Linked DNA regions of Homo sapiens: all the other regions are linked to region 7. The links are contacts of gene promoters, found by promoter capture Hi-C in blood cells and fetal thymus (Javierre and others, 2016). All regions are on one chromosome and are shown on one strand. Each heading gives the region's core, a stretch centred on a gene start or on the middle of the fragment in contact. The rest is flanking DNA. Distances are from core to core; before and after follow the strand shown.

What was found. The method cuts DNA at HindIII sites, captures the fragments that hold promoters and counts their contacts. A CHiCAGO score of 5 or more calls a contact.
Region 1: a fragment that was not itself captured here is called in contact with the fragment with the promoter of RBL2 in region 7 in 6 of 17 cell types (neutrophils, naive CD4 T cells, monocytes and 3 more); the score reaches 12.8 in neutrophils.
Region 2: a fragment that was not itself captured here is called in contact with the fragment with the promoter of RBL2 in region 7 in 4 of 17 cell types (neutrophils, monocytes, non-activated CD4 T cells and 1 more); the score reaches 12.0 in neutrophils.
Region 3: a contact is called between a fragment that was not itself captured here and the fragment with the promoter of RBL2 in region 7, in 7 of 17 cell types (neutrophils, monocytes, naive CD4 T cells and 4 more). The highest score is 19.2, in neutrophils.
Region 4: a fragment that was not itself captured here is called in contact with the fragment with the promoter of RBL2 in region 7 in 7 of 17 cell types (neutrophils, naive CD8 T cells, total CD8 T cells and 4 more); the score reaches 10.3 in neutrophils.
Region 5: a fragment that was not itself captured here is called in contact with the fragment with the promoter of RBL2 in region 7 in 2 of 17 cell types (neutrophils and total CD4 T cells); the score reaches 7.4 in neutrophils.
Region 6: a contact is called between a fragment that was not itself captured here and the fragment with the promoter of RBL2 in region 7, in 5 of 17 cell types (neutrophils, monocytes, M2 macrophages and 2 more). The highest score is 10.3, in neutrophils.

Annotation. Positions count from the first base shown.
Region 1 is chr16:53,265,366-53,268,065 of GRCh38, forward strand. It overlaps CHD9 (chromodomain helicase DNA binding protein 9), which reads left to right. Exons shown (of 39, transcript NM_001308319.2): 21 at 1,929-2,125; 22 at 2,562-2,700. Among named protein-coding and RNA genes, the nearest start is that of RBL2, 170 kb to the right of the region's middle. The HindIII fragment of the contact is 3,841 bases long and covers 1-2,700 here.
Region 2 is chr16:53,188,422-53,191,121 of GRCh38, forward strand. All of the region lies in intron 2 of CHD9 (chromodomain helicase DNA binding protein 9), which reads left to right. Among named protein-coding and RNA genes, the nearest start is that of CHD9, 130 kb to the left of the region's middle. The HindIII fragment of the contact is 1,385 bases long and covers 604-1,988 here.
Region 3 is chr16:53,210,068-53,212,767 of GRCh38, forward strand. The region is part of intron 3 of CHD9 (chromodomain helicase DNA binding protein 9); the gene reads left to right. Among named protein-coding and RNA genes, the nearest start is that of CHD9, 160 kb to the left of the region's middle. The HindIII fragment of the contact is 7,899 bases long and covers 1-2,700 here.
Region 4 is chr16:53,247,743-53,250,442 of GRCh38, forward strand. CHD9 (chromodomain helicase DNA binding protein 9) reads left to right here. Exons shown (of 39, transcript NM_001308319.2): 17 at 2,129-2,324. Among named protein-coding and RNA genes, the nearest start is that of RBL2, 190 kb to the right of the region's middle. The HindIII fragment of the contact is 2,792 bases long and covers 1-2,700 here.
Region 5 is chr16:53,686,125-53,688,824 of GRCh38, forward strand. RPGRIP1L (RPGRIP1 like) reads right to left here. Exons shown (of 27, transcript NM_015272.5): 5 at 1,739-1,841; 6 at 309-452. Among named protein-coding and RNA genes, the nearest start is that of RPGRIP1L, 16 kb to the right of the region's middle. The HindIII fragment of the contact is 8,993 bases long and covers 1-2,700 here.
Region 6 is chr16:53,230,534-53,233,233 of GRCh38, forward strand. CHD9 (chromodomain helicase DNA binding protein 9) reads left to right here. Exons shown (of 39, transcript NM_001308319.2): 9 at 886-972; 10 at 1,114-1,251. Among named protein-coding and RNA genes, the nearest start is that of CHD9, 180 kb to the left of the region's middle. The HindIII fragment of the contact is 169 bases long and covers 1,224-1,392 here.
Region 7 is chr16:53,433,113-53,435,812 of GRCh38, forward strand. It overlaps RBL2 (RB transcriptional corepressor like 2), which reads left to right and starts at 1,359. Exons shown (of 22, transcript NM_005611.4): 1 at 1,359-1,684. The coding sequence starts at 1,445. RefSeq lists a silencer at 1,414-1,633 and an enhancer at 2,244-2,353. The HindIII fragment of the contact is 5,814 bases long and covers 1-2,700 here.

The sequences.
Region 1 (2,700 bases), core at 127-2,626, 170 kb before region 7:
GCACTCCAGCCTGAGTGACATCAAGAACCTTTCTTTAAAAAATTAAATTAGTTTAAAAAAATAAAATACATTAATATAAAATAATAGTTTAAAAAGTATGGTACTGACAGAAAGATACCAAGCAAAGAATGGGATAACAACAGAAAAAGATCAAAGTATAAGTTTATGAAATATACAAATAGTGCTAAAGAAAGATGATTTAATAAATGGTGATTAGGATATTGGATTAGCATTTGGGAAGAGCGTTATAATCCTATGCTCTATACCAAGTAAACTCTAATTTGTGATAAAAGATTTTTAAGTGTTTTTTAATCAAAACATGAAAAATAGAAATTAGATTTCTTTTCACAAATATTTGGGTGGGAAAACATTCTAAATTAGAAATTACAAAGGAAGTGATTGGCATATTTAACTATACAAGACAGAATTATGTAATGGAAAAATGAAAGTGCAGTCAGACTGGTGACACTATTTGTAGCAGACATGTGTATGAAAGTTAATGTTTCTATTACATAAAAGCTAATATAAGTAGATCAAAATTGTATCAAATCTCAAAAGATTTGGGGAAAAAGACATTTGAAAATTAAGAAAAAAATACAATTAGTTTTTTGTTTTTTTTTTTAAGGAAACTGGGAAGGGGAAAAAGAGGAAAAGGGACAACTCTTTCTTACGGAAGAATTCCATTTAATAAATGTAGAAGGAATGAAGGAAATAAAAAATCACCATGAATCAACTGCAGTAATAATTGTAGCATACAAGATCCATCAGTGAATTCTAAAATTAGTGGGTAAAAGTTTAAGGAGACACAACATATTTATGTGTCTTCAAAGTATATCTTCCAAAATACATATTAATTCCAAAAGGAAAACTAGTAACTTCACAGTGGAGAAACTTGGCAAAAGTTAACATCACCTGTCATAGGACATCACATGCCCCTTAAATATAATGCATTCCATACATATTATGGCATACCAGGACCTTTATGGTCTGGTCCCTGCCTTCTCTCCTACCATTTGTCCTCTCCTGCTCTAGGACATAAGCATTTCCTGAAAATCTGATACCACTTCAGGTCCCTTGCTCTTTCCTCTACTTGTAATGCTATCTCTTCCCTCACTGCCTGGCAAACTACTTCTAATACTTTAAGAAGTCTTTCTAGTATCACTACTTTGTGACATTTTCTCTGACTGTGATACCTCTTATATCATAAAAAATTTCATCCCAAATAGCATTTGTTTAGTGACACATTTGTCCGTGTAACTAAAACTTTGGATTCCTTATGAGTAGAAACAGCCTTATTCATCATTATACCACAGCCCATAACATAGTGCCTAGCTTAGAGAAGTTTCTCAATAAAAATAAAAAGTATGTTAACATAAATTGTTTTGAATGAATTAAACTGAATCGAACATACTGAGGTTGATGCAATTAACTGCCTTGCTTTCTTTGTATTAAGTCTTTTGGAAAGCGCTGTAAAATATTCATAACCTTTGACCAGTATTTCCATTTCTGGATACTTCCCTTCTTTTGAATTTACCTTTAGAATAAACTTAAGCCACAAAGATTTACTTTAGCATTATTTATTTTAAAAATTAAGAACAATCTAAATTATGAATTAGGTAAAGAAAAATTATAAGGCATAAATTCAGTTTAAAATATTTTTATGATTACAATAATGTTATATTAATATACAAAATATCAAGTTCTTTTTATCCTATGACTATAATGTCATAAAATTTTACATGTGTGGTAGTAAGAATTCTAAAGGAATATAAGCAATTCTAAGTTGACTGAATAGGTTGGTGAAATTGTTAGTTGTTTCTTTTTGTCTGTGTTTCTGTAATTATTGTTTGTATAAGGTAAAAATGTAGAACACTGTTGTAAGCAAAATCATAAAAGTACCTTCAGGTAATAGCAGTTCTGTTTTACAGAACAGCTTGGTTATTGACACTCCAAGAATTAGGAAGCAAACAAGACCTTTTAGTGCCACAAAAGATGAATTGGCTGAATTATCTGAAGCTGAAAGTGAAGGAGATGAAAAGCCCAAACTCCGGAGACCCTGTGACCGTTCCAATGGCTATGGAAGAACTGAATGCTTTAGAGTTGAGAAAAACCTGCTAGTTTATGGGTAAAACATTGTTTTTAATGTTTGCTCTAAGTAGTCTGGTATGTAATGTTACAGAAAATATATACTGGTTTTGAGTATATTTTTTATCTTCTTAGAATCATTAAAATTTACTTTTAAAGTACTCTATTTTTAGCATATATTTAAGAGCAGAATGATGAGATTATCCTCAAGTATTTAAATTTTCAAAGTATCACTAAAGTCAAACTTCTTGTCCTTAAATTCGCATATTCAGTAATACAAATTAGATGTTATCCATTACTGAATAAAATATACTAGAAATTACTATACCATTCCTCTACATTCTATGCATGGGTAGGGAAGACTTAATTAGCAAAAATGACAATTTTTTAAAGTTTTTCATTCCTTTTATCTATGAGTTAATATTTTTCTCTAGAACTTGACTCAATATCAATGTAACTATACCTTTTTTAACCAGGTGGGGCCGATGGAGAGAGATTCTATCTCATGGCCGTTTCAAAAGGCAGCTAAATGAACACGATGTAGAGATAATTTGCCGAGCTCTCTTAGCATATTGCCTTGTTCACTACCGAGGAGATGAGAAGATTAAAGGTTTC
Region 2 (2,700 bases), core at 46-2,545, 240 kb before region 7:
ACATTCCCACAGGTAGTGTATAAGGGTTCCAATTTTTCCATACTTGCCAATGCCTGTTTTTATGTCTTTTTTTTATTGTAGCCATCTTGGTATAAAGTAATGTCTTGTTGTGGTTTTGATTTGCATTTCCCTGATTGCTAATGATACTGAGCATTTTTTCATGGGCTTACTGGTCATTACCTTTTTTTTTTTTTTTTTTTTTTTTTTTTGAGATGGAAGCTGGCGTGCAGTGGTACCATCTCGGCTCACTGCAACCTCCACCTCCCAGGTTCAAGCAGTTCTTCTGCCTCAGCCTCCCGAGTAGCTGCAATTACAGGTGCTTGCCACCACGCCTGGCTAATTTTTTGTATTTTTAGTTTCATCTTGTTGGCAAGGCTGGTGTCAAACTCTTGACCTCAGGTGATCTGCCCACCTCAGCCTCCCAAGGTGCTGGGATTACAGGCGTGAGCTACCGTGCCTAGCATTGTATCTTTTTTTTAGAGAAATGTCTATTCAGATCTTTTGCCCATATTTAAATTGGGTTACTTATTTTTGTTACTGATTTGTAGGAGTTATTTATATATTTTAGATACAAATCTCTTATCAGGTTTTTTAAATTGAAAAAGCTTGACATCAGATATTTGATTTGCAGATTTCCTTGGGTTTTTTTTTCATTTGAAAGATCGTAGCTTCCAAATATAAAGATTAAAGATAATTTTATTTCTTGCTTTCCAATCTAGGTGTTTTTTATTGCTTTTTCTCTTCTAATTGCCCTGACTAGAATTTTCAGAACAGTGTTGAATAGAAGTGACAAGAGTAGATAACCTTGTCTTGTTCATGATCTTAGGGAAAAGCATTCAGTCTTTCACCATTAAGTACTGTATGATGTTAGTTGTGGGTTTTTCATACATGCCTTTTATTATGTTGCAAAGGTTTCTTTTTATTCCTAGTTTGTTTTGTGTTTTTATCATGAAAAGATGTTGAAACTTTGTCAGATTCTTTTTCTTCATCGCATTTAGTTTTTATTTGTGATCATTTTAGTTTTTATTCTTTATTCTGTTGATATGATTTTCAGATATTAGCCTTGCACTCCTAAAATAAATCCTACTTGTCGATGGTATGTATCTCTCTCTCTATATATATATGTATTATATATATTTTTTTTTCCTGGATTAGGTTTGCTATTATTTTGTTGAAAATATTTGTGTCTGTATTAGCAAAAGATACTGCTCTGCAGTTTGAATTTATGATTTGTACTAGCGTTTGCTGTGTTTGTATTTTGGCTTTAATGGGTCATCCTGGATAATTGCATTAAACTGAACAATTAGCAAAATATTTTTATAGCCTTTTATCAGACTTTAGTGCATTTGTAGACTGTGCAATTTTTTCCATGTCTTACAGGATGATAGCGGAGGTATAAATGAAGATATATTTTATTCAAATATTTGAGATCAACAAAATAGACGGAAAGCTAATGTTGACAGTATATGTGACCTGTAATCATTTAAGTACTTTTGTACTTGTTTTTTTGCATCTATATTATGGGGATACACTTTAATATTACATTTATTATCCCTCAACCTCTTATTTAAAATACTTTTGAGTATTCTAAAAATGTCACATTGAACCATGATTTTCCCCCAACCCTACCTCCCAAACTAGAACAGAACCAACAAACTTCTGGTCCACATTGGTCCCCAAATTATTCTTAATATCACCTTTCCCATTGAAGAGCAAATTACTGATTAAATCTCTCTATTTGTAAGATTATAGCAGTTTACAATATGGCTTTCTTTCCAGATGGTAGAGGTGGGTGGAGACAAACCTAATTTCTTTCTCAATTAAAAACGTTTTATACTAGAAGAAATAAAATGGGTTTTGAAAGATATAAAAGAGTTGTTTTTGTCTACACTGAGAATCAAAAATTTTATAGTTTTGCTACCCAATCCATTCAAGCTCATTTTCTGCTCGTTCTCTGTGGACTCTGAGAATGAGCCTTTAATATGTTAAGCTTTATCATGACGCGCCAAGGAGGAGGAAATACAAGGCTGCATCTCAGAATTTTACATGAATCTGAGTGTTTTAATATCTCACAATTTCCTGGAATATAACTTACGAAATTTTTTTCTACACAGTTATTTCACTTGTTATGCCTTTGGTTATGCTTATCTTCCTCCATTGAATATCTTATTATCTCATCATTATAAAAATTAGCTTATTTTCTGAGAACACTTTCAAGTCTTCCTTGCCCCTCTAGTTTATATTGATTTACCATTTTCCCCATATCTCTGGTGTGTTTCCCAGAGAGTCTGTTTTTTGTACCTCTATGTAATAGGTTATTAGCAAATATTTTCTAAATTGAGTATCTGCCACTAACAACAGGCCAGCATAAATTATAGAAATTAGTATAATATAATCTAATTTTACTTTGTAGTCAAATAATTAAAACTAATAAAAGAAGAGGAGTTATTAAACAGATAAGTCAGGGTAAAATTAATCCTGTTACATATGTCCACTTAGTAAGTACATTTTAAAATCAATTTTATTGAGGCATAATTTACATACAATGAAATGTACCCATTTTAAGTGTAATCTGATGATTTTTGACAAATATATACAATTAGGTAATCATTACCGCAATTAAGATATAAAATGTTTTTATAACCCTAAAAAGTTCCTTATGCCCCATTGCAGGTAGTCTTCCTCCCATCCCTGGCCCCA
Region 3 (2,700 bases), core at 123-2,622, 220 kb before region 7:
TATTTCAGTATACGAATCAGGAAAAGGATAAAAACAAACAAAATGAAATCCATATTGCTGTGCCAGTTTCATATTCACTTTCTTTACAGAGCATGCATTGAAATTCTTTATAAGATTCTTTTTCTCTTGGTTGTACTTGTGCCTCACTGAGCACTCATAGTTTGGAAACATGAAATGTAATATTTTCTTAATAAAACCACAACTTTGGACTGAATGAAATGGCAAAAAAAAAAAAAAAACACTAATACCATATAAATCAACAATAAGTGGTTGCCAGTTCTTACTGATTTACTTCCATATAGTCTGATTTACTTTACGTAATAAAGAGGCCAGGTGAGGATTAATGCTCCAAGAGAATTATAAGGACAAAGAATTGCTCTAGGAGGATATATTAATCCTATGTATTTTACTGCTTATCCAAAATATTTTCAAAAAATAAAATACAGTAAATGTTATAATTTGCTTTATAGGTGTATTTGCTTAGCATGCAAGGGTAAGCATAACTAAGCCAACATAGTTTAGAATTGTTTTTTCAGGACTGGTTATTTTTGAGGACTTCATGTGGAAATTTGACATAAAGGGGTCAATCTAACTTTTCTCTTTTTCACAAAAAGTCCGCAATAAAGAATGTCTTTATTGTGAAAATCTTCATTTGCTCAGAAATTGTTGATATATTATATAGATATTTAGAACTAATGCAATTTTATAAATCAAATGAATTCTTAGCATTTTAAATGTAACCGCCAAATTATTTAGTTTGGTCCTTATGTCATTCAGGTCCAAACGATTAAATAATATGGGCTCTCTTGTTATAATAGATTAATAATCATATTGATTTTGCATTTTACTTGCAGACAGCTAAAATGAAATTTGAAAGATTTCTACTTCTTTTATTGTTTTTTTAGAGGTTTTAGGTATGAAAGTAACTTATTTTTCCAAAGCTCTGCCCAGTTTTAATTCAGGAAATCCCATATTTAGTCTTTTGCTGAACCAAAATTTAATATAATTAAGGGTTTCCAGTTTTAACTTGTTCAGAGATCTAGACAGAGTAGAATACTATTTGGAAGAGTAACGTTTTGAAAAACAATGCATAAAATGAGGAAATTGGTTGATAAACTTTTAAAAGTTACACTAACCGTTACTTGCCTCAAACTTGGGAAGGAACAGCTAAAGGCAAAAGATACCAGAAGTAAATCTAGTTTAAGAAAAAACATTGTACATAAGAGATAACTAGAAATAATTAAATTAGAAACACAGATTTTTAGAAAAGTGAATTAATATAGTAAGGGGAGTAGTAACACTGAAGCGGAGTACTGACTAGTTTTGTGATATCTGTGTTTTTGTTAGGAGTAGGTAAATTATTCATAGTAAATTATTTTAATATTGCACAACATTGACCAATTTTTCTAGAGGTAGCAAATTCTAGAAAACAAAATCGATAAGAATTGTACTAGAAATTTTTTTTTGTTTTGGCTAAATACATGGTAAAATATTGAGTAGTTGCTAGAAAAGAAAAATTGTTGAAAATATAGGCCTTTTTGATAGAAGAATTTATAAGTCGCAGGCAGATAAGTGAATTGATAGAAGAATTTATAAGTCGCAGGCAGATAAGTAGTATTGAAGTTTGCATATGTATTACTAAGCTGTTAGAGTAAAACAGTGTCAATCATTTATATCAGTCAAAGACAAAAATTATTGTCATGTTGGAGGAAAAGGCATAGTTGGAATAAATGAAATTCATATACAATCCAGAATTCCAGTATTAGCCAATGAAATATTTCATTACTGTGCTTTCCAATAAGCCACTATACTTTGTAATTTTGAATTTGGTGAGTTTTAAATTTTTGAGTGAAGAATCATTTAAGTAAAGTTCAGTTGCATCATTTCAACTAGCACCATTTTATAATTAAACATCTCATTTAAAATTTTTTATTTTTCTATTAATTTTAGGACAATTGGGCTGTTCCTAATACCAAATTATTGATATTAGTTAATTTGGAAAGCAGTGCAACTTAATCAACAGCAGTGTAAAATATAAATTTTAAAATTAATGGCTGGGCGCGGTGGCTCATGCCTGTAATCCCAGCACTTTGGGAGGCCGAGGCGGGCGGATCACGAGGTCAGGAGATTGAGACCATCCTAGCTAACACCGTGAAACCCCATCTCTACTAAAAATACAAAAACAAAATTAGCCAGGCGTGGTGGTGGGCACCTGTAGTGCCAGCTACTCGGGAGGCTGAGGCAGGAGAATGGCGTGAACCTGGGAGGCAGAGGTTGCAGTGAGCCGAGATTGCACCACTGCACTCCAGCCTGGCTGACAGAGCGAGATTCCATCTCAAAAAAAAAAAAAAAATTTTTTTTAAAGTAACTAAATTTGTAAACAATAATTTATGGTTGATGTCATCAGGGTTGGTGTTTATTTAACCCATATATGTGATTTGATGTAATCTAGGAAGACTAATCTGAAGAAAAGCAATACTGCCCCTGCTTGCTAATGTGCTTGAAACCTTTTCGTTGTCACTTTTACAGATTAACTTTTTTTCCAATGCAAAGAATAGAATGTCCTTTTCGGAGCACTTTCTTAGAGTCTCATTTCATTTTTACAATTCTGTGAGTTAGAGTGGGCATACAGTGTGATAATGGGGTTAAATTCTTTGCCTCTGGAGCCAGTTGCATTTGTTCAGATTCCAGTTTCATCAC
Region 4 (2,700 bases), core at 127-2,626, 190 kb before region 7:
TTTACCCAGGAATGGGTTTAAAAATGTACATTTTACTTGATTAATAAACCTTGTGGATGAAACTTTAAATAGATATATATTTACAACAGTCATCTTCAAAATTGAAAAAAGTGATTCAAGAACTTTGGATCTATTTCATTGTTATAATTAGAGCCTTAAGTTGTGGGACTTTTATTCTTATTATATACTATATAAAATTTGTTCATGCTTTAATTTTTTCTGATTTGTTTCAATGTGGGTTTTTTGTTTTGTTTTGTTTATTGGTACATCACAATAAGATAGTGTTAAATATTGTCTAATCAGGCCGGGCGCGGTGGCTCACGTCTGTAATCCCAGCACTTTGGGAGCCTGAGGCAGGCGGATCATGAGGTCAGGAGATCAAGACCATCGTGGCTTACACGGTGAAACCCACGTCTCTACTAAAAAAAAAAAAAATACAAAAAATCAGCCGGGCATGATGGCGGGCACCTGTAGTCCCAGCTATTCGGGAGGCTGAGGCGGGAGAATGGCGTGAACCTGGGAGGCAGAGCTTGCAGTGAGCCGAGATCGTGCCTCTGCACTCCAGCCTGGGCGACAGAGCGAAACTCTGTCTCAAAAAAAAAAAAAAAATTGTCTAATCAGTATTTAGGCTATAATAGGCTAATTATCGTAGGATATTTTATCAGACCATTAGGATTCCATCTGATAGTAACATATTAATGTAAAAGAGAATCAGAAATTTCAGCTATAGATTTTTTATTTTATTTTTTTTTGTTTGTTTTTGCTTTGTTGGTTTTTTTTTTTGTTTTTTTTTTTTTTTTGAAGACAGGGTCTCACTGTGTTGCCCAGGGTGTTGTGCAGTGGTGTGATCATAGCTCATTGCAACCTCGAACTCCTGAGCTCAAGCAATCCTCCCACCTCAGCCTCCCAGGAAGCTGGGACTACAAGCATGCACTACCACACCCAGCTAATTTATTTTGGGTAGAGACAGGGTCTCACTGTGTTGCCCAAGCCGATCTCAAACTCCTGGGCTCAAGCAGTTCTTCCACCTCAGCCTCCCAAAGTGCTAGGATTATAGGCATGAGCCACTGCACCTGGCTTGCAGATTTTAATTCAATAGATTTTAACCCATATAGATAAGTAAAGGTCTATACTGATTTATATTATTAGAGATTATGTAGTTCATTTTTATTTTTCATTTTTATTTCTAGTTCCATTTTTATTGTCAATGTCCTACTCTTTAGCCTCATTTTAAAATGTATAGTATTCTCAATTTTATATCATGTGATACGAACATTAAGTTGCACTGTTCCCAAAAATAGTAATTCTTATATTTTTTTAATCTTCTTACGTGGAGAACTTCATACAGATAAAATTACTTATCAATTTCTGTTGTAATAAATTTCATGGAAAATTCAGAGTTTCTTTATTGTCATAACAAACATTATTAGAAGTCTCCATTTTGCAGGTACCAGAGATAACCGCGGAGAGACTGCTAAAACTCTAGTAAATCATATGTAGAAGTGTGTCAGATGTCATATGTATACCACTTAGAGTCCAAGCTCCTAAATTTTTATGTATTTTATTTTTATTTGATGTCTTGCAGTTTTTGAGTTTTGTATATGTTAAATGGGGAAGGATAAAGGAAGTTAAAAGATAATCACTTTGCAGTAATGACTATAAAGAATTCAACAGCATTCCAGTGTATTCTTAATAGATTGCAATATAGAAGCAAGTATGTCAGTCGAGAGTAACATGGATTAAGGACAAAAGAAACATTCATAGCCTTCTTGTATAAAGTTTTTGTGAAAGTATTTCTTGCAAAAAAGTAATATATTATGATGAGATCAGCAAAGCAGTTTTTATAGACTGCCTTTTGTTATTCTAACTTCTGAAATAAAATTTATTGTAGTGTTCTTTTACCTATACATCTGGGAATTCAGAGGTTTTGTATCTTTATATTAGTTTTTGTTTTCTCCTTAACACCAACACCAAAAAGTATAAAGTCACAGAAACTACTTGAGATGATATTGCTTCTTAATTTTAGAGAAAACATAATGCTGCAGGAAAACTGACTTTACATTTGATAGAATATGTCTTCAGTTTTATTATACTTATTTATGTAAATTTATTCCATTTCATTCCATAGATACTTATATGAGCGAATTGATGGCAGAGTCAGAGGAAATCTTCGGCAAGCTGCTATAGATAGATTTAGTAAACCTGATTCAGATAGATTTGTTTTTCTCCTGTGTACCCGAGCTGGTGGGTTGGGCATCAACTTAACTGCAGCTGATACATGTATAATTTTTGATTCTGATTGGAATCCTCAGAATGATCTTCAGGTAAATAATTTCCTTGGCTAACAAAAAATGCATTTTTTAAAAAAGTAAAATTGTGTAACTTTTTGGTAATCCACATCTTTTATTTTTATCTGGACAAACTAATGTATGTTTCTCTATGAAATATCTGTGCCAAATAAAATAGGTGAAGTTATTTTAATTGTTATGATAAAAACTATAATGACAAAAATTTTTACTTTTTTATATGTCTCACTAACTTATATGTCTTACTAGCTTATAAAAAATTATACCTAATTGAGTACAGTACTTTTTGTTTGTTTATTTAGATATGAGGTCTCACTATGTTGCCCAGGCTGGTCTTGAACCCCAGGACTCAAGCATTCCTCCCATCTTGGCCTCCAAAAGTGCTGGGTTTACA
Region 5 (2,700 bases), core at 182-2,681, 250 kb after region 7:
TAGTTATAATCAAATGGTATCAGAACTTCCTGCAATCTTGGCAAATGGGGTAAATGAACATAGAAAACAAGATGAGGGTGATTTCCACGCATCAGAAGCTGCTTAAAAGCACAGCAGGTTAGGGAAAACTGTCTTTAGACTAGAGTTCTTGACAGCAGTTAGTAGGTCGAGCATAGGCTTATATGAAGAATGTTAAGTAAAAACATGATTTTTAAATAGACTAGATAAACTTATCCTTTTATGGCACATGATAAAGTATTTTAAACTAATTTTGACCTTATCAAAGTGATATTTCTGTTTTAACATACCTTTGATCTGTAGCTTGCTGTTCTCGAAGCTGAAGAAGAGATAACTCAATTTCATTTTCTTTTCTCCTCAACTGAGTTTTCAGGATCTCAGCCAAGTGCTCTAACTCCTCTATCTGGCCTCTTTGTGACTGAATAACGTTTTCTCTGAAATAAAGAGCCTCTGTAAGAACTTGTAGTTTGAGGAAAATTTTTCAATAGTTAAGATCAGTGCAAAGAAAGTTCTTCATGAAAAAGAGCAAGCAGAAGTTAAAAAATTTAGCTTAAGTGCCTCTGCACACAGTGAAATAGTAGCAGATTAAATGTGATGACTTGGAAATACATACGGAACAATGCAAGATACTGCTTTTTATAAGATAATGTCCTAGGCAATGGATTGGACTTTGGTTTGATTCAATTGAGTAAGTATTTATTGTGGAGTACACCTACTATGTATGCCACAATCTGGTCTTCAGAATATTTATATGTCTTTGTTCTTTCATATATGCACATCTGCTTATAACACCCAAATTAACACTTCAGAGAGAGAGGGCAGGAAATTTGCCAAATATAACTTAGTGGTCTCTGGCATGCATTTATCTCTATCATGTCTGGCAGCATCACACTGTAATGAGTCTCAGGAACCGGTATAAACGTTGGCTTTTCAGGTGATCATCAGGTAACAAGGTTATGTCTAGTCTTTTATTTTCCTGCAGGCTAATCATTACTGTAGCTGCTATTTAAAATATTCAAAAGGAAACATTTGAAGACCATATTATTCTTAAGCAACTATCTTAAGTATGATACTGTGCGCCATGTTTTCTTTTCTCATGAAGTATTGTTACTTTTTGATGATCCAGGTGAAGGCTTAAAGTGGAACCTTACCTTCATTTGTGTAACTCACAGACACTGAAACCATGAGGCTTGGATTAACTAGAAAAGTAAGCTAAATGTGGCAGAAGTAACTTTTTTGAAACCATATGATGAAGAATGCAGTGCCATAGAATCATACGAAAACAAAATCTGAAATCCATATGTATCTGATAACTCCAAACTTTTATGCCACTCCCCAATTCTTTATTTATTTTTTTTAACCAAGAAAAGGGCTAATTGATTCAGGATCTAAAAAAATTACCTGTGATTTTCTGGGAATAAAAATGTTGCCTCTAAATCTTACACTATTCTAACTGACTGGACTTTATGCCATTCCTCTGAGGGTCAAATTATAATAAAGAAGACTATTACATAAATCCTTCCATTGAGGCAGCTGGATAAGTTCTTCATTTTCCTTTTTCTGAGAACATGTTATATAACATCTGTTGTTACCCTACAGAACATAGCTGTATTTCAGTGGAGCAAACTGTTTACATATAAATAAAGGAAAGGGAAGGATAAAAAAAAAAGACATTATCAATAACCAAAGTTCTCAAATTACCACAAAAAAGAACACATACAAATTTCTTATTTCTCCTCTGGCTTCTTCAAGTAAACTGTTGCCATATTTTGTAAACATGGGATGTGGAGTTTCTGCTACATCTGCATCTTGGAATTTTATACCTAAAAACAAAGTAATAAAATATGATTACAGAATTGAAGTTAGAAAAGAAGGATCTTTGATTTGCTATAATAAGGATATTTATAATAAAATCTCTTAAGTATTAAGAGGTATGTGTTTTATAGTACACAGAATTATAAATACACTGCCAAAGGGAATATGTGATCTCAGCCACCAGTAGGCATTAAATAAAACACAGCAGCAAGTATTGCTCATTTTACAAATCTACTGTAGAAATCAAATTACCTAGAAATAATTTTATTCAACTTAAGATTTAGACTCCTGCAGTAATTTCTGAAATAAATCAGTCTTCTATTCAAGTTTTAACAATGTAAATAGGTTATAAAAACCTGATTTTTTCCCCAGTGTTTGTGATAAGGGTTTTTTAAATTTTTAAATTATTCATATTCCTTGCCCTTAAATGTTTAAGTAAAAATGTTTTCTGTATTTTGATTTATTCCACCCCAATAACAAAATCCCTATTTATGAAAAGGTACTTTGAGAATGGATCATCGCAAGAATTCCTTTAAATAAAACATTTCCCTGCTGCACTTAAAATATAATTTTTCTTATAGAAATCTGTAGAATTTTACAAAGACAGTCCCATTGTTTAAAATAAGGCATATTCTTAATTATGTGAGTTATTTTACATTTATAGAATAACTAAATATTAGAGTTTAAGGTAGATAAAGCATCACAGATGATTAAGGTTTTTAAATGGAGAACAAAACAACAAATTTATTCCTTTAGAAAAGTTAACTTTTTAAACGTGAGATTTCATTGCTCTGCATATTCTCAGTAAAGAGAAAATTTAAATAAAGAAAAAAGAGAATTTTAACTAGAACAATGGAACTATTACTC
Region 6 (2,700 bases), core at 58-2,557, 200 kb before region 7:
GTCATCTCTTCACTATGATCTAGAAGTTCCTAATAAGCTGAAGATTTTAGAATTAAGTAATAATCATTAAATTTTCATTAAGACTAATTAGGGGAGAGTCGGTGAAGAATTTTAAGTAAAGGAGCGATATATAAGATTTATATTTGAGAAAGATTACTCTGGGGACAATGTGAAAAACATTAAAGGGGAGGTGAGACAGTAGTTGGGGTTATTTTAAAGATTCAAGTAAGAAGTGAGGATGAAGAAGGAGGAACCAATCTCAGAGTTAAAATAGAGTCTGTACGAATTGGTGACTTACTCGATGTAGAGGGTAAAGAAAAAGAAGGAATCTAAAATGACTTCTTCATTTCTGGCTTGTGTCACTGAGCGTGGGCTATGGAGAGGAAGCTCTGTTACCATTAACCATTAGAAAATGCAGGAGGAGGTATGGGTTGAAGAGTAAATGAGTGCAAATGAGTTTGAGGTACCTCAGTAAAGTTTGCAGTCAGCTCAATAAGTGGGTCTTGAGCACAAGAACCATCAGGTAAAGATAAAGGGTGTGTGAGACAACAGAAATGAGCATTCAATGGGATGATGCATGGTCTTCAACTCTTGCAACCTGAGGAAAAGCGTAAAGGAAAGGTATAGAGGCTGCTTTCAGGCATTTTTTAAAGCACGTATCTTCTAGAGTACCTTATATTTTAGTACTATTTGGTTTTATTATTTATAACATTTTTCATGTTATCCTAGCTATCATTTGGAAATGAAAATGGAAGAATTCCATTTATTGGACATTTAACTGAAATCAAACTTACAAGGTCTATAGTGAAATGCTAGTAAATTCGTCCTTACTTTTATCATTCCAGTTCTTTGTCAGATGTCAATTAAGTTACCTTTTAATTTTAGATGGAAGAAGAACCATTTAACCCAGACTACGTTGAAGTAGACAGAGTATTAGAAGTCTCTTTTTGTGAAGATAAGGATACTGGTGAGGTAAATATATGGTAAAAAGATTTTTTAAGTAAGAAAAATCTGAAACTTTCCAAGTATTAAGACCTAGTACTTTATTCTCTGTTTAAACTATTTCTTACTAGTGTCTTTTTCAAAATGGTAAATGAAAAAATTTTTTTACAGCCTGTTATTTACTACTTAGTAAAATGGTGCTCATTGCCATATGAAGATAGTACTTGGGAACTAAAAGAAGATGTAGATCTTGCAAAAATAGAAGAGTTTGAACAACTGCAAGCTTCAAGGCCTGACACAAGACGTTTGGTAAGAACCTGTTTTAGACAGCTTTATAAAATCTTAGCACTTGTTTATGTAAGTTATGATATTGCTAATAATTATATAATGTTTTACTTTCATTTCTTTTAAACAGGCTTGTTACTATGTGAGTCTAGTTTTGGGAGCCAAAGCTTAAGAGGGAGTTTATATGTGAAAAGACAGGAGCAGATTCCTTTTTGATTAGCACGAGAGTGAGGAAAGCTGCCCTGATAAACATGGAGATGTGAAGTAAGAGAAGGAAATGAATTAAATATTCCATAGAAGAGATCATATTGTTTTATAATAACTATTTTCTGATCTTCCTAGTATTATTTTCTGGTCTTCTTACTTTATTTTCCAGTAATGTCCGTAGGCTGTTAACAAAAGCATATCAGTTTACCCCCATTCCTTTTACCTTCTAAATGCTATTCCTTGAACCAGGAAACAGAAGCGTCACCTAATTCAGAGAGGAATGAGTCAAGGAATGTAGTAGAAGAGAAAGATTTTCTTTTGGGGTGGGGTCTATGCCTTAGTGGTAATATTAAGCCTCACTGAATAAGCTATGTCTTTAGATAAGTGATTCTCAGTCAAAGGTGCATATCAGAATCTCTTCTGGAGCTTTTCAAAAATTAGAGATGCCTTAGATATATGTTATAGGCCTTGGTAAAGGGGGCTCAGCCAATAGAATTAATCCCCTTAATTAATGTAAAATTGATGACAACAGGGCTAGTCTGTCATGGTTAAATAATGTAGGAGGTGTTTTTTTGTTTTGTTTTGTTTTCCTTTCTTTTTGCCAGTATACTGCTGTTAAATAAAATAGCATATAAGTCACGTAAAGTATTTTGAGATTCTGTAAATGAAATTTTTCCCTGACCCGAACTAATGAATCATTAATAGTGATTGGATTGCTGAAAAGAAGCTATACAGAATATGATCTAATGCAGAAATTATTTTAAGCAGCAGTTAAAATATATGTTAATTATTTTAATGTTCATTGGCTATCACTTAAAAAATGTTTTCTTTAGCAAACACCTGTATTAAGTAGCAGCAGAGCTTCAATAACCAGTCCTGTTCTCAGTATACTGATAGCCTGTTTTGTTTTCCATGTACAATTACTATACACTTACCTGATGTTTAAGAAAAGCTTTCTTGAACTGTGTTTTTCCTCTGCTCTCAGGGTAACACAACAATCAACACAAAAGACTTCTGTAACCCCAAAATATGTGGGGAATTCTTCCGACCAGCAAGCAGTCAGTTCTGCAGTGGATGCCAGCTGGCTGTCCTCTAATTCAGTTCTACCCAGCTCTAATTCACCATCTACCCAGATATAGCATCAGATCCCACATCTTGAGGGTTCAGTCCCACAAGACTGCCCCCTCCTTTCCACCAGTCACAAGTCCAGGGGCCTTCAGAACTTCTGACTGACTGGCTTCAAGTTAGGGTTCCCATTACCCACCA
Region 7 (2,700 bases), core at 109-2,608:
AATTTAAAAAATTAAAATAAAGAAAGGAGAATTGGAAATAAAATGAATTGGCTGGGCACGGTGGCTCACGCCTGTAATCCCAGAACTTTGGGAGGCCGAGGTGGGTGGATCACTTGAGGTCAGGAGTTCGAGACCAGCCTGGCCAACATGGTGAAACCCTGCCTGTACTGAAAATACAAAAATTAGCTGGGTGCGGTGGCGCACACCTGTAATCCCAGATACTCAGGAGGCTGAGGCAGGAGAATCGCTTGAACCCAGGAGGCGGAGGTTGCAGTGAGCCGAGATCGTGCCACTACACTCCAGCCTGGGCAACAGAGCCAGACTCTGTCTCAAAAAAAAAAAAAAAGTTTAATTCACGCAGAGCCAGCTGAACGGCAGACAGGAGTTTGGTTATTCAAATCAGCCTACCAGAAAATTCGGAGACTGGGGTTTTTAAAGAATGACTTGGCGGGTAGGGGGCCAGGGATTGGCGAATGCTAATTTGTCAGGTGGGAGGTGAAATCACAGGGGGTTGAAGTGGGCTCTTGCTGTCTTCTGTTACTGAGTGGAATTGCAGAACTTGTTGAGCCAGATTATGGTCTGAGTGGCGCCAGCTAGTGCATCGGAATGCGCGGTCTGAAAAGTATCTCCAGCACCAATCTTAGGTTTTACAATAGTGATGTTATCCCTGAGAGCAATTGGGGAGGTCAGGAATCTTATAGCCTCTGGCTGCAAGCCTCCTAAATCATAATTTCTAATCTTGTGGCTAATTTGTTAGTTCTACAAAGGCAGACTGATCCCCAGGCAAGAATGGGGTTTGTTTTTGGAAAGGACTGTTACAATCTTTGTTTCAAAGTGAAATTAGAAATTAAATTCCTCCTGTAGTTAGTTAGGTCTTCGCCCAGGAATGAACAAGGGCAGCTCGGAAGTGAGAAGCGTGGAGTCATTTAGGTCAGATCCCTTGCACTGTCATAACTTTCTCACTGTTAGGATTTTTGCAAAGGCAGTTTCGTGAACGTACAGAGACAGGCCCTTGCTATTATCCCTATTTTTTAGATAAGGATATCCAGGCGATGAGGAAGTTTTACTTCTGGGAACAGCCTGGATACGAAACCTTCACACGTCAGTGTCTTTTGGACATTTTCTCGTCAGTACAGCCCTGTTGAATGTTCTCACGGTGGGGAGGTACGTGTTTAAAATGCGGGGAAGGTGCTTTTATTTCACCCCTGGTGAAACTAGGGGAGCTAATTTTTTTAAACATGATTTTTGGCCCCCTTGAACCGCCGGCCTGGACTACGTTTCCCAGCAGCCCGTGCTCAAGACTACGGGTGCCTGCAGGCGGTCAGCGTCGTTTGCGGCGGCGCAGGCGCGGTGCGGGCGGCGGACGGGCGGGCGCTTCGCCGTTTGAATGGCTGCGGGCCCGGGCCCTCACCTCACCTGAGGTCCGGCCGCCCAGGGGTGCGCTATGCCGTCGGGAGGTGACCAGTCGCCACCGCCCCCGCCTCCCCCTCCGGCGGCGGCAGCCTCGGATGAGGAGGAGGAGGACGACGGCGAGGCGGAAGACGCCGCGCCGCCTGCCGAGTCGCCCACCCCTCAGATCCAGCAGCGGTTCGACGAGCTGTGCAGCCGCCTCAACATGGACGAGGCGGCGCGGGCCGAGGCCTGGGACAGCTACCGCAGCATGAGCGAAAGCTACACGCTGGAGGTGCGCTCGCGGGCGGAGGGGCGCTTCCGGCCTAGTTGGCGTGAACCGGTGCCTTCCGAGCCGCGTCGCGCGCCTCGAGAGACTCTCGGGCGGGTTGCGGGCTCCCAGCCCCGAGAGGGGTGGGGACTTCCTCTGCGCTATTCCGAGGCTCTTAGCCGCTCCGAGGGCTAACCCGCTCTCGCCGCGCTTTCCTGCGGCTTCCGAATGGGGAACGCGTCTTGCCCTAAAGTAGCACAGCAAGGCTGAGATCGCGCTGGGGTCCCGTTGAGGAAAATGGGTGTGTGTGGCCCATCTGACCCCCCGCCCGCCTTGTTAGTAGAATGAACTAGTGTCGTTGTCAAGACCACACGGACAAGGGGAGGGGACTTGCCCTTATTTGCACCGCGATTAACCGGGTTGTGGCACCTGGGTCTCCAGGCGTCTCCGTCTGTTCGCTTCCCCCTGTTAACCAAATTGCCTTTGCCCTGGCGTTGCGGGCGTTTGAGTCAACGTGCTGATGCGTTTTGGGCTGTGTTTACGTCTGTGTAAACAAATTAATACTCATTTCCCCCCAGGCCAGATGAAATGAGCCCTCCGCCGACCCGGATGTAGACACATGCCCCCATTTGTCACTAGGATCAGGACTGTGGCTACCTCGAGGGCTTTTTGGTCACCCCGGGCATTGCACAGGACTCCTGTTGTTGTTGCGATCCGGGTGTGTTAGGTCGCAGCCTTCGGACAGGGCTTGCAGATGAGAAAAATGGCCATTCTAGCCAGTGAGTGTCAGCTTTGTATGCACCTCCCCTTCATGGGCCAATGGGAAGTGACACGGAAGTACGGATTGTTTATCAGCTGTTTGACTGTGTGTGTGGCATTTAAACCTGAGGCCATTTGATTTCTCAAGTCGTTTTATAATTAATTTGTAGAAAGAGTCGGGCAAATAGGTCCAGGATGCAAAGCCTAACCAAGGTATTATTTAAATATGATGTTTTTGGCTATGTGTACTGATGAGTGAGGTTATTTTTAATTTGTATTTG